5 separate regions of the Homo sapiens genome follow, and regions 2, 3, 4 and 5 are each linked to region 1. The links are contacts of gene promoters, found by promoter capture Hi-C in blood cells and fetal thymus (Javierre and others, 2016). All regions are on one chromosome and are shown on one strand. Each heading gives the region's core, a stretch centred on a gene start or on the middle of the fragment in contact. The rest is flanking DNA. Distances are from core to core; before and after follow the strand shown. Region 1 holds the start of FKBP3 (FKBP prolyl isomerase 3). Region 2 holds the start of RPL36AL (ribosomal protein L36a like). Region 3 overlaps LRR1 (leucine rich repeat protein 1). Region 4 has its middle 6.0 kb from the start of RPS29. Region 5 has its middle 1.5 kb from the start of KLHDC1.

Evidence for each region. Contacts are between HindIII fragments. The CHiCAGO score rates a contact against its expected background, and 5 or more counts as called.
Region 2: a contact is called between the fragment with the promoter of RPL36AL here and the fragment with the promoter of FKBP3 in region 1, in 1 of 17 cell types (total B cells). The highest score is 5.0, in total B cells.
Region 3: a fragment that was not itself captured here is called in contact with the fragment with the promoter of FKBP3 in region 1 in 1 of 17 cell types (naive B cells); the score reaches 6.1 in naive B cells.
Region 4: a contact is called between a fragment that was not itself captured here and the fragment with the promoter of FKBP3 in region 1, in 2 of 17 cell types (naive B cells and total B cells). The highest score is 5.7, in naive B cells.
Region 5: a contact is called between a fragment that was not itself captured here and the fragment with the promoter of FKBP3 in region 1, in 1 of 17 cell types (fetal thymus). The highest score is 7.8, in fetal thymus.

The regions. Positions count from the first base shown.
Region 1 is chr14:45,133,210-45,135,909 of GRCh38, forward strand. It overlaps FKBP3 (FKBP prolyl isomerase 3), which reads right to left and starts at 1,272. Exons shown (of 7, transcript NM_002013.4): 1 at 1,140-1,272. The coding sequence starts at 1,247. RefSeq lists enhancers at 470-1,341, 1,029-1,248, 1,342-2,212 and a silencer at 1,218-1,395. The HindIII fragment of the contact is 3,907 bases long and covers 1-2,700 here.
Region 2 is chr14:49,619,178-49,621,877 of GRCh38, forward strand. RPL36AL (ribosomal protein L36a like) reads right to left here and starts at 1,449. Exons shown (of 2, transcript NM_001001.5): 1 at 1,385-1,449. It overlaps MGAT2 (alpha-1,6-mannosyl-glycoprotein 2-beta-N-acetylglucosaminyltransferase), which reads left to right and starts at 1,622. Exons shown (of 1, transcript NM_002408.4): 1 at 1,622-2,700. The coding sequence starts at 2,092. RefSeq lists enhancers at 1,224-1,333, 1,722-2,272 and silencers at 1,494-1,703, 2,004-2,113. The HindIII fragment of the contact is 17,089 bases long and covers 1-2,700 here.
Region 3 is chr14:49,600,347-49,603,046 of GRCh38, forward strand. It overlaps LRR1 (leucine rich repeat protein 1), which reads left to right. Exons shown (of 4, transcript NM_152329.4): 2 at 2,024-2,122. It also overlaps the pseudogene RHOQP1. Among named protein-coding and RNA genes, the nearest start is that of LRR1, 2.8 kb to the left of the region's middle. The HindIII fragment of the contact is 1,015 bases long and covers 859-1,873 here.
Region 4 is chr14:49,579,074-49,581,773 of GRCh38, forward strand. It overlaps a transcript of RPS29 not described here. Among named protein-coding and RNA genes, the nearest start is that of RPS29, 6.0 kb to the right of the region's middle. RefSeq lists an enhancer at 2,501-2,620. The HindIII fragment of the contact is 254 bases long and covers 1,162-1,415 here.
Region 5 is chr14:49,690,319-49,693,018 of GRCh38, forward strand. No RefSeq gene overlaps it. Among named protein-coding and RNA genes, the nearest start is that of KLHDC1, 1.5 kb to the right of the region's middle. The HindIII fragment of the contact is 1,970 bases long and covers 324-2,293 here.

The DNA.
Region 1 (2,700 bases), core at 22-2,521:
GTAATCCCAGCACTTTGGGAGGCCGAGGCGGGCGGATCACGAGGTCAGGAGATCGAGACCATCCTGACTAACACGGTGAAATCCCGTCTCTATTAAAAATACAAAAAATTAACCTGGCGTGGTGGCACGCGCCTGTAGTCCTAGCTACTCGAGAGGCAGAGGCAGGAGAATCGTTTGAACCCGGGAGGCGGAGGTTGCAGTGAGCCGAGATCGCGCCACTGCACTCCAGCCTGGGCAACAGAGAGAGACTCCGTCTCAAACAAACAAACAAAAAAACCCAGAAACAGTTTTTCTAAATGAAAAGTTTAGAATTTTAAAAATTGTATAGAAAACACAAGCAGGCTGCCGCTTGTAAGAGAATGCTGCGTGCACAACTATTTCAGCAATTTAACAGGTGCATGAATGAACTTATTTTCCAAAGGAAAAACAAGTGTAACAAAAATAACTTGACTATAGACGGATGGTTAAGATGGAGACTATGCTGACAAATGGAGAGCCTACAGTATAAAGCATTTCAAATAAATTTCTTAGTCTGTTTATAACAATGACAGACCACTGCACAAGAGAAATGTGCATGTAGCTCCCTTAAAGTATAAAGGTGAAAAGGTCATTTAAAGGGTCGATATGTTAAATCAAAACTTAAACCACAACCTACGGATTTTTTAAAAATCACACGCATTAATGTTCAGTATTTAGTAAACTGTTGAGAAAAGCAAGTTGGATACACCGTTCCCACAGAAATCTTCACATCCCTTCCCATTTCCCTAGTAGCCGGCGCCCCGCTCCCAGGAGTCTCATCCACACCACTATTCCTCGGCCTCTCCGCCCTAGCCCCCAATATCCTCGGGTTCCTATTTTTCTGGCCTCCACCCCCACTCAAGGATCCCAATGAGGTTCTAACTCTACAATTGCAGCCTGTGTGCCCCAAGAAATAAAGCTGCTCCCCTGCCCCAGTAGAGAACGCCCGAGAGGCGGGAGCGAGGCACCAAAGCACAAGCTGGGCCTCTCCGGCCTTCCAGGCCACCGGCCGCGGGAAGACGAGGGCGGGGGCACAGAGGAATACGGAATGTATGGGCATCTCCAGGGGGGTGAGGCGTCCCTCAGCCGCACCAGCCCGGCCGCCCCTACGCCTCTGGTACCGAATCTGAACCGTGTTCCTGCAGAAACTTGATAATGTCCTTCTTGGGCAGCTGCTCACTGCGCAGCTGCTCCACGGTCCACGCCCGCTGTGGAACGGCCGCCGCCATCTTCCCCCGCTGCCTCCGCTTTACTGAGCCAGCCCGCCGCAGTTCGGCATCGCCCCGCCCCCTAGGGCGGGGCGGGGCCACTCACGGAGGTCGAGGGGCGGGCCTCTGCTCTAGCAGTCGGGATTGGGGCCTGTCTTTGAGTGACGTCAAGGCTGTGCTATGAGGGCTTCTTTGTTGAGTCCGGGTTGAAAAACCTACCGCGGTCGTCTCTGCAGTCGACTGAGTAGAAGACCGCTAGAGATCTTCGATTCTGAATTAGACACCTTGTGAAGCGACCTCTGATGGTAGCGACATTTATCAACCATTACCCACATTTAAGGCAGCTATGCCTTTAAAGTCCAGTCTATAACCTGTTAAAAGAAAACAGCATTCAGGCTCCTTATCTCGTTTTATCTAGTTCTAGCCTAAAAAGTCACACCTGAAGTGCTTCAGTCCTTGTCGATCCGAAAACCCATATCCCACCATTTCCCTTTTAAAGATCACACAACCGAAACTTAAATACAAACTGCCCATCCCCTTCCCCCCATACAAATACGAGAAAGTTTGTCCAAAACGAAGTTCAGAAACTTTAACAAATAAAACAATTTATAAAGAAGCCGCACTCAGGATGCCACTTGCTGATGAGAATGACATTATTAATGCTCGTAACTCTGTGATGTATATTTTTTTCTCAGTACACGAGGAAACAAATTTACAGAGGTTACTCAAAGTCAGGTTTAGAGAGAAGTCAGGAATTATTTGAGACAGAAATCTTCGTTAGAGTGGAATAATTGCACACCGACGTTTATTATAATGCTCTTACCTATAATAAAGATTTAATAGTTGAACATCAGGACTCCTTACTTAAAAAAATGTAGGCTGACTCTGGGCATGTTGCCTATGAGTTAGCTCTGCTTTGCAAGGAGCATTAAAAAAAAAAATTCTGACGAATAGCTGGACCAGACCACGTTCACTTCCCTTTAAACAATGAAAATATTAAAATAATGGGTTGCCACTCCCAGCGCGGTGAAAAAGAGACTTGGCATTTTGTTTTCTCAGCCCAGATAGAGATATAAGACAAATTATTCCATCTACACATTTTTGCTTTTCACTTTATATTCTGATTTAAAAGTACAAGGAATGAGGCACGTTAGACGCTCAATAACATTAAGTTCCCAAACTGGTGGCTATTCCATTGTCCCCGGGTATGTAATATTTTACAATAAATCTCTATTATAACATTTTAAGTGATTTATCACGTTAGCAATGACGCCCAGCCATCTAATCATTGGAAACGGAACTTAAATTTAGAGTTTGTTAAAACAAAACACCGGAACCGCACCGGGGACCATATTTAGAGTAACGCCTTAATAATGCGCATGAGTCTCCGGCAGGGCTGTGAAGGTTTCCGGGAAGCCAGCCAATCATTCCCAACGGAAACTCAGTAGCGGCATTTTCAACTGGATAAACTGGC
Region 2 (2,700 bases), core at 199-2,698, 4.5 Mb after region 1:
AACATTCCGAAAAGTGAAAGTGCTATACAAGTATATACAGGAAAACCGTACACATAAATGAGTAATATATAAATCCACCACGTACTCTTTTTCCATATGAATAAACGCACATACAAGTACATACCTTTTTGAAACACTTCGTTTAAATTACTGGAGGACTAATTTGTCGACCTAAAGAACTGAGGCAAGGCCGAGCACGGTGGCTCATGCTTGTAATCCCAGCACTTTGGGAGGCCGAGAAGGGCGGATCACCTGAGGTCCGGAGTTCGAGACCAGCCTGACCAACATGGAGAAACCCCGTCTCTACTAAAAATACAAAATTAGCCTGGCGTGGTGGTGGTGCATACCTGTAAGGAGAATCGCTTGGGCGGGGTGGGGAGGGGCGGAGGTTGCCGTGAGCCGAGATCGCACCATTGCACTCCAGCCTGGGCAACAACAGCGGAATTACGTCTCAAAAAAAAAAAAGAACTGAGGCACAATTCATATAAGTAGAATGTTTATTTGGGGCAAGTTTGAGGATTGCAACCCAGAGCACAGATTCAAAATGCCCTGAGTAGCAGCAGTTGCAAGTGGGTTTTTAGAGGAAAAAATGGCAGTTCCTAAATTGTCTACCAAGAATTTACATTAAAATAACACAAGCGATTGATTGGCTATACATCATTCTTTTCATGACAAATTCCAGGAACGCGGACATAATGGGTGAAGCAGCTAGTCAGGAATAAAATGCCAGGCATTAAGTGGGGAGGTGTCTGAAGTCCCATACTGCTGTCTCTCTGGGCCCGGCAAATTTTGCACATCTCAAATAATTAACAATGCTCCGAGCCATTCTTCTTTTCTCATATAGAACAAGACTCACGAAAACCGACAGCAGCAGCTTTAGGAGGCCCAATACAGTCCGTTTTCCGTACGAAATGAGTTTAATTTATTGTGACTGCTCCAAAAGAAAAGTGCGGTTCATCTAATTTTCTTCCGAAAAGGAAGTTAAGGACCAGAGTTTCTTTGACCCCCTTCCCCCCACCCACCTCCTCCATTTTCCAGCTCTAGAGAATGGCTGGGGCAGCGCGCGACGTTGTAGCTACGGTTACGACCCGCCCCGTTCCTTCTACGAGAACCACATCAGCGTAGTATCACTTTTCCCCTCCGAAGCACAGTCACCCGTCAGCAGCCTCGAGGGCTGACGTGTCCTTATCAAGCCGGCGCGCCCCGCGATTCTATAGCCGCCATGCCTGAGACCTTTTTCCTGAAGGGAGAAGCCTGCTCTCGAACTAAGGCCGGCGAGGGCCATAGGTCTCGCCTTCCCTTTCCTAAGAAGGCCTAGTCCTACCCAGGATTCTGAGCAAGGGAGGCTCCTATTGGAGCCGCTACAGCCTCGTTCTTAGCTTACCGAGAAACAGCGCCCGACACCTGGCCCTTCGCAGCTCTCGCCTTTCGCAGCTCTCGCCTAACAGGAAAGGGAAGAAACAGGCGGAAGTGGGAACTGCACCTGAGCGACAGTACTGCAAACCAATAGGCAGCCGGCCACGGCGGTCAGGCGCCTTCGGTCGCGTCTGGAAAGCACCAACCAACGGTCTAAGGGGCGGGCCGGAGGGGTGTGGGCCGGAGGGCCGCGGTGTGCCGCGGGGCAGTTGCGGGTTGTCATAACGGTCCCCGCCGGAGTGAGGCGAGGCCGCGTCGCTCAGTTCTGGCCGTCTAGGGCCCCTGTAAGGATGAGAGCGCAGAGGACGCAGGGCCGCTGGAGGCGCAGGTAACGAAGCTAGGGTGCGGTTGGGACCGCGGCTGAGCTTTTTCCGGGACCCGTGGTGCTGAATGGAGAGGACGGAGACGAAGCCGAGCCGCGGCTCCTAGCGGCGGCGCCGATGCTCGAGCTGTAGCTGCCAGGCGAGGATGTGTGGAGCGCAGGCGGCGCGGGGTAAATGAGAGGTCTCGGGCCCCAGGACCCCCGGGGCCCGGGATGAGTTAGCGAGGGCAGCCGCGGGGGCCAGTTCCGACCGTGACAGGCCAAGGCGACGGCCGCCGCCCGCCCGCCCCTTCCGTGCAGAAGCAGCTGCTCCTTTCCGCGCCCGCCCGCCTGCGCTCCCGGCCCTGGAGACCATGAGGTTCCGCATCTACAAACGGAAGGTGCTAATCCTGACGCTCGTGGTGGCCGCCTGCGGCTTCGTCCTCTGGAGCAGCAATGGGCGACAAAGGAAGAACGAGGCCCTCGCCCCACCGTTGCTGGACGCCGAACCCGCGCGGGGTGCCGGCGGCCGCGGTGGGGACCACCCCTCTGTGGCTGTGGGCATCCGCAGGGTCTCCAACGTGTCGGCGGCTTCCCTGGTCCCGGCGGTCCCCCAGCCCGAGGCGGACAACCTGACGCTGCGGTACCGGTCCCTGGTGTACCAGCTGAACTTTGATCAGACCCTGAGGAATGTAGATAAGGCTGGCACCTGGGCCCCCCGGGAGCTGGTGCTGGTGGTCCAGGTGCATAACCGGCCCGAATACCTCAGACTGCTGCTGGACTCACTTCGAAAAGCCCAGGGAATTGACAACGTCCTCGTCATCTTTAGCCATGACTTCTGGTCGACCGAGATCAATCAGCTGATCGCCGGGGTGAATTTCTGTCCGGTTCTGCAGGTGTTCTTTCCTTTCAGCATTCAGTTGTACCCTAACGAGTTTCCAGGTAGTGACCCTAGAGATTGTCCCAGAGACCTGCCGAAGAAT
Region 3 (2,700 bases), core at 116-2,615, 4.5 Mb after region 1:
AATAGGAGCTCAGATTGATCTCCGAGATGACCCCAAAACTTTAGCAAGACTGAGTGATATGAAAGAAAAACCTATATGTGTGGAACAAGGACAGAAACTAGCAAAAGAGATAGGAGCATGCTGCTATGTGGAATGTTCAGCTTTAACCCAGAAGGGATTGAAGACTGTTTTTGATGAGGCTATCATAGCCATTTTAACTCCAAAGAAACACACTGTAAAAAAAAAAGAATAGGATCAAGATGTATAAACTGTTGTTTAATTACGTGAGAAACATCTTCAGTGGCCAAGGAAACTGTCCATTTCTCTCAGAAAGCAAATGAAATGCTGCAGCTATACCCAGACCTTTTATAGGTAATGAAGCAGTTCAAAACTTGAAAGAAAACAAAACCTGTCCTCAGAATTCTGTAAAGTTTATTAAGAATGTTCCTTAAAGATTTAAGAAGCAGTAAGCAGCATCTGAAGCCACAATCTATTATAAATACTTTATTTCAACTAGAAGGTACAATCTCTCAGGGGTTTCATAGTTTAAAAAGCTACAATCACATCATGTTGTAACTACATAAAAAACAGAGCTGTAGATGGAACTGCTTGGCTTTGACCATACACATTTCTGCACAGCCCTTACAGAATCTGCACAAAGAAATATCTCCCTTTTCTCCAGTTAATTGTTCTTGTATGTAAGTTGCTTTCTATTCCAGCATACCCAGAGTGGTGAAATAACAAGGCCAGCCACGTAGCCAAAGGTCGCTCCAAGCGTACAGGAGATGGGCCATACCTGAGGAGAGAATGTATGAGATCAAAAAAGAACAAATGTTTTATTACTTGAGCACAAGTGTAACCTAAATATTTCTATATTAAAGCTTAATGTGCTTTCTTAAAAAAAATCAGGTCACAGCATCCTGCACTTGCCTTGTCTTGATATTTGTTATGCTTATAAGTACTTGTTTAATAACTATCTCTCATCAGATTGTCAACTCTTTAAGTGTAGTTACCCTGTCAGTCTTATTCATTGCTATGTCCCAAGCCCCTATTAGAGTACCTGGTACATAGTGGGTTCTGAATCAATAGTTGTTGAAATCTAAAGCAGATGCAACAGCAATCATTAATTTTTTTTAAATTTTAAATATGCCATTTATATAGATGATAATCATTAAATTTTTTTTGAGCACTCATTATGTGTCAGTCATCGTTCTAGCACTCAGGATAGAATAGCAAAGGAGACAAGATTCCTGCTCTCATGGAGTTTGTATATAACCTACTGGGAGGTGTGCCCACCCCAGGCTAATGGACTGAAGTTATGAAGGCAAGTAACTGCTATTGGCAACTCTTCCTACAGTTACATAGTTGGAATGGGAGAAAAGGAGCATTCTCTCAAAACATGGTGATCCTGTTCTCAAAGGAGAGTTACTGGACAGACAGAGCAGTAACATCCACCACCAGCTAGATGAGGAGTATAACTTCCCAACTGCTAAAAAAAAAAAAAAAAAAAAAAACTTTAAAACTTGGCCACGCGCCGTGGCTCATGCCTGTAATCCCAGCACTTTGGTAGGCCCAGGCAGGCAGATCACTTGAGGCCAGGAGTTCTAGACCAGCTTGGCCAACATGATGAAACCGTGTTTCTACTAAAAATACAAAAATTAGCCGGGCATGGTGGCACGCACCTGTAATCCGAGCTACTCAGGAGGCTGAGTCATGGGAATTGCTTGAACCTGGGAAGTGGAGGTTGCAGTGATGGCACCACTTCACTCCATCCTGGGTGAGAGTGAGTGAGACTCTGTCTCAAAAAAAAACAACTTTTTTTTTTTTTTTTTTTTTTTTTTTGAGAAGGAGTCTCTTTCTGTTGCCCAGCCTGGAGTGCAGTGGCGTGATAAAAAGCTTTAAAACTTAAAATGAAAACACTCAGACTCAAGGACTAAAAGCCAAACCAAAGCCTGGCAAAGTAACTGGCACATTCTAGTTGTAATAAATGTTACTGAGTAACAATAATTAGTTTTCTTCTTTTTTTTCTATTGGTTTTATGCAGCTAAGGGAGAACATTGAGCAATTCTTCACCAAATTTGTAGATGAGGGGAAAGCCACTGTTCGGTTAAAGGAGCCTCCTGTGGATATCTGTCTAAGTAAGGTATGGTATTAAAAACATTAATGATTAATATTTGGCTGTATTTTCTTTATTTTTTAGAAACAGAGTCTTGTTCTGTCACCCAAGCTGAAGTACAGAGGCATAGTCATAGCTCACTGCATCAAACACCTAGGCTCAAGCGAGCCTCCTGAATATCTGGGACTAAAGGTGTACCTCACCACTCCCGGATAAATTTTTAAAATAACTTTTTGTAGAGACGGAGTCTTGATATGATGTTGCCCAGACTGGCCTTGAACTCCTGGCCTCAAGCGATCCTCTTGCCTCAGCCTCCCAAAGTGTTGGGATTATAAGCATGAGCCACCATACTTGGCCTGGCGTGTATTTGCTTGCTTGCTTGCTTTTTTTGTTTGTTTGTTTGTTTGTTTTGAGACGGAGTTTTGCTCTTGCTGCCCAGGCTGGAGTGTAGTGGCACGATCTCAGCTCACTGCAACCTCCATCTCCCGGGTTCAAACAATTCTCCTGCCTCAGCCTCCCGAGTAGCTGGGATTACAGACACCCACCACCATGCGTGGCTGATTTTTTTTTTTTTTTTATCTTTAGTAGAGACAGGGTTTCACCAT
Region 4 (2,700 bases), core at 39-2,538, 4.4 Mb after region 1:
ATCCACATGATGAAACCCTAGCCTGTGGGTTGTAGGAGGTGGGGCATTTTGGAAAGAGATTAGGTCATGAGAGGTCAACCCTCATGGGAGTAGTTCCCTTATAAAATAAGCCCAAGAAAGCTCATTTGCCCTATCCACCATGTAAGGACACAATGAGAAGGCACCATTTATGAGTCAGGAAACAGCTCTCACCAGACATGAAATCTACCAGCACCTTGATCTCAGACTTCCTAGCCTCCAGAACTGTGAGAAATAAATGTCTGTTATTTAAGCCACTCAGTCTACTGGATTTTGTTACAGTGGCCCAAAGACACTAAGACAGAATCCAAACCTAAGAATATATCCTCTGCCAGAGTGGTGGCTCACACATGTAGTCCTAGCATTTTGGGAGACCAAGGCAAGAGGATCACTTGAGGCCAGGAGTATAAGACCAACCTGGGCAACACTGCAAGACCCTGTCTCTACAATAAATTTTGAAAAACAAAGAATAGATCCTCTATGTTCCAATGGTTGTTTGGGCCTCTCCTATAGCACCTACCATCTTTTGCCATCAACACTTATTGAGCTTTTACTAAGTAATTTAGTTCAATTCCCCAACAAATGAGGACCTATTAATCTACAAGGCATCTTGCTATGTGCTTGGTATGCATGTAAATATGAAAGGAAACACTTACTCCTGCCCTCAAGTAACTAAGTGATCTTTGGGAATAAGAGATGCATAGTCCTCTAACCATACAATAAGTGTGTTGTGAATATTAAGAGCATAGGCACTGATTTCAGACAGACCCAGTTCCAGTCGTTTTGTCTCTTTCTTTGGGAGACCTTGGGGAAATTACTTAATCTCTAAGCCTCAGTTTCCTTGGCTATGTAATGATGATAATACCTGCTGAAAAGTACTCTAAGACTGGAAAAAGGCAATGTGCATAAAGCACTTAGACCACCTATCCACAGCAGCCTTCCCACTCACTACCACCATGTATACACAGGGATAGGACTGTCTAGGGAGTGTTTCCCTTCCATTACCTAAGGCACTGCACGTCTCTTACAGAATTTATACCAGGCCATCACACTGGACCAGAGCCCAGCCCATCCAAGAGACTCTCATGACCAAATCAAACACATATCACACCCTTTTTGACCTAACTCACCACTACATATGTAAGCTTCTCTCATCATCTCCCAAACTTTTTTACATTTGCTTAGCTGACACAGCTTCTCATCCACTCTATCTGCAATACCAGCTCATCCCATTACCAATAAATCTTTTCTACATCCTCAACCTCATCTCCCAATATTCTTCCCACCTCCTTACCCAGACTGAAACCTGGCTCTTTCCTAGACACTTCCCCAACACCAACTTTATCATCACATACACCTGGGGTTCAGGGTTAGGAGCACAGGTGGATTTACTATGAAGCTTATGAAACTTAAACTCCAGTATCCCTAACTTCTACAAGCTCCTTCTAAGGCAAGTATACTAGGAATGTGTTCAATCACATGTTTTCAAAAAATTGGCGGCCAGGAGCGATGGCTCATGCCTGTAATCCTAGCACTTTGGGAGGCTGAGGTGGGTGGATCACCTGAGGTCAGGAGTTCAAAAGCAGCCTGGCCAACATGGTGAAACCCTGCCTCTACTAAAAATACAAAAAATCAGCCAGGCGTGGTGGCAGACCTGTACAGGCACACCTGTAATCCCAGCTACCTGGCAGGCTGAGGCAGGAGAATCGCCTGAACCCGGGAGGCAGAGGTTGCAGTGAGCTGAAATCATGCCACTGCACTCCAGCCTGGGTGACATAGCAAGACTCCGTCTCAAAAGAAAAAAAAAAAAAATGCTGGGTGCGGTGGCTCACGCCTGTAATCCCAGCACTTTGGGAGGCCAAGGTAGGCAGATCACCTGAGGTCTGGAGTTCGAGAACAGCCATTGGCCGGCATGGAGAAACCCCATCTCTACTAAAAATACAAAATGAGCCGGGCATGGTGGCGCATGCCTGTAATCCCAGCTACTCAGGAGGCTGAGGCAGGAGAATTGCTTGAACCTGGGAGGCGGAGGTTGCAGTGAGCCAAGATCAAGCCACTGCAGCACTCCAGCCTGGGCAACATGAGCAAAACTCTATCTCAAAAAAAAAAGAAAAAAAAATTGGCAAAGATAATTTAGCTGCAACCAGTTAAGATGCTCTTTCCATTCCAGCTTCCCTTCTGTCACACTTCCCCTCCTCTCAGATAAAACTGGGGTTACCAATTCTGTCTTAATCAAAGGCACACAATACAGTTGATCACTCACGTCACTGCTTAAAACAGATTCTACTTGGATGTCTAAGACAAGTCTCAAAGTCAACATGTCCAAATTGAACTTTCTATTCTTCCCAAACCTGGAAAGGCCTATCTCAACAGCAATTCTATCCTTCCAGTTGCTCAGGCCAAAATCCTTGGAGTCATTCTTAGACTGGGTCTCATTCTGTTGCCCAGAGTGCAGTGGCACAAGCCTCCCAAGTAGCTAGGCGTGCACAACCACACCCGGCTAATTTTCTCTTTTAAATTTTTGCTATTCTCCCGCCTAGGCCTCCCCAAGTGCTGGGAATACAGGAGTGAGCCACTACGCCCAGCCCCTAAGAGTCATTATCTACTCCTATCTCCTGTATCGGTTCCTTCAACAAACCTTGTCTCCCACAGTAAGGCTGGCTGTAGTGGTGCTCACCTGTA
Region 5 (2,700 bases), core at 59-2,558, 4.6 Mb after region 1:
CAAGCTCCGCCTCCCGGGTTCACGCCATTCTCCTGCCTCAGCCTCCCGTGTAGCTGGGACTACAGGCGCGCGCCACCATGCCCGGCTAATTTTTGTATTTTTAGTAGAGACGGGGTTTCACCGTGTTAGCCAGGATGGTCTCGATCTCCTGACCTCGTGATCCCCCCGTCTCGGCCTCCCAAAGTGCTGGGATTACAGGCGTGAGCCACCGCGCCCGGCCTATAACCTTGTTTTATGTGTGTTTTTATGTAAAGACATCTTTACATTGTGATTCGTTAACACTGAACTCAGGGCCAAGAGCCCTATAACTCATAGCTGAAGGAAGCTTATTTATCACATGTATTTTCTCCATAAGGCACTCCCACTCTCAAATAATTCAACAAAATGAAAAAGACAGACACACACATACCAACAAACATAAAGCTAGTATGGTAGTATTAATAATTATTAACCTGGAGTGGAAGATACACAGGTACTCTTTGAACTATTTTTTCAACTTTTTTTGGTTTGCTACTTTTTATATTAAGAAATTGGAGAGAAAATAATCAATTCCAGTTGCCCAGCTTTCTCTCACAATCTGACCTCACAATTCCCCTTTTCCCATAAATGTTCCCAATCATAATTCTCTTTCTCTAATAAATTTTCAACTTCTTCTATGGCTCCTTCACCTGGCCAGCTCATAAAGTCCCAATACTTAAATGAACAATTATATGCTGATGACTCCAAAATCCCTATCTCTAGCCCTTAGCTCTCTTAGACTTCAAATCCAACTCAATATGCCTCCAAATGAACTCACCATTAGCCCTGCCCTCCCCCAAACCTGTTCCTCCTCCCATGTTCAATAACCTAGCGAAGGGCTCCACCCACCTCCCACCCAGTGACCAAGCTGGTAAACTAGGCATATCCTTGACTCTTCCCTCTCACGAATGAAAGTTCCTTGAACAACTTCCGTTCATCATTCAGTTCTTAACTTAGACTTTACTTTCTCTCAGGAACCTTCCCTGTCTTCCCTCAATCTGAGTTAAAGGGCCTCTGTACACCCAAGGTGCCCTGGACTTTTGCTATTTTCACACTTACTGCACGGTATGGTAATTGTCTGTTTGCTGGTCTATAGACTCCACCAGACTCTACAGTCCAGGAGGACAAATGCTCCATTTCAAAAATACAATACCAATATTACTAGTAACAATAAAGTGATGGAGTGAGAATTATGATTGACATATAGTTTACACTAAGTAAAATGCACATATCTGTATGCAGTTCAATGCATTTTGATAAATGTATACACCCATGTAACCACCACCTCAATCAAGATACAGAACATTTTAATCACTCCAGAACACTTCCTGTACTCCTTTCCATCAGTCCCCTCCCCCTCCCTACTCCCAAATGACCACTTTTCTGCTTTCTATTATCATAGATCACTTTTGTCTATCTTGAATTTCTTCCTTCCTTCCTCCCTTCCTCCCTCCCTCCCTTCTTCCTTCCCTCCCTTCCTCCTTTTTCTTTCTTTCTCTCTCCCTTTCCCTCTCTCTCTCTTTCTCTCTTTCTTTCTAAGGAACCTTGCTCTGTCGCCCAGACCGGAGTGCAGTGGCGCGATCTCGGTTCACTGCAACCTCCACCTCCCGGGTTAAAGCGATTCTCTTGCCTTTGTAGCTGGGATTACAGGCATGCGCCACCACGCCCGGCTAATTTTTGTATTTTTAGTAGAGACGGGATTGCCCAGGTTGGCCAGGCTGGTCTCAAACTCCTGAGCTCAAGTGATCCGCCTACCTCATCCTCCCAAAGTGCTTAGATGAGAGGCGTGAGCCACTGCAATCCAGTTACATTTGTAAAGTTAAATATGCATTTATCCTCTGACCCAGCAATTCCACATCTAGAACTCTACTCCAAAGATAGGCTTGTACAAATACAAAATAACATATGCATAACGTTTCATCGCAGCATTATTTATGATAGCCAAAAAAACCTGGAAATAACCGATATGTCCATCAATAAGAATCTGTTTGAATAAGCTATGACACATCCAATCGGTGGAGTGCTATGAAGCTATGAAAAGGACTGAGGAGACTGCTTGCTGTATCCTGATATGGATCGTCAAGTGAAAAGAGAAAGTTAAGGAACACTGTATATACTTCCTTTTGTGTAAGAAAAGGAGCAGATACTCTGTTTATTTGTATAGTCAAAAATAAACAATAGAAAGTATCATTAAAGTGCACCAGACTTAAGTGCCTTCTAATGTGATGCAATATGAAGTATTTTCCAAAAAAAAATCTGAACTAGAATCTAATAAAGCTTTTAGATACAGCTTCCAGCCTAAAAGAAGTATGGGGAAAGGATGCACAAGTTAATGAGAAAAGACACTGAGGAACCAAACCCAGAAGGTGGTACGGCTGTAGGAAAATAAGAAAACTAATCCATATAACAAACAAATGGCACAAGAGAGAAGGGAGAGAAGCTATTCTAGAGTAAAACAGACGTAAAGTCTTAAGAGGCGTTAACAACGAATTACGGTGCTGAACAAACCAACTATAGAAAAGACATTTTGAGATAATCAAGGAATCTGACTACAGACTGACTACTAAATGAGGCTGTACTGCCAAAACACAATTCCAAGAGAGAAGGAATCTGCGCGTGGAAAGCCCAGGCCCCTTGCCCACTGCGAGGAGCCAGAACGTCCCTCCACAGCCGCGCCGCCCC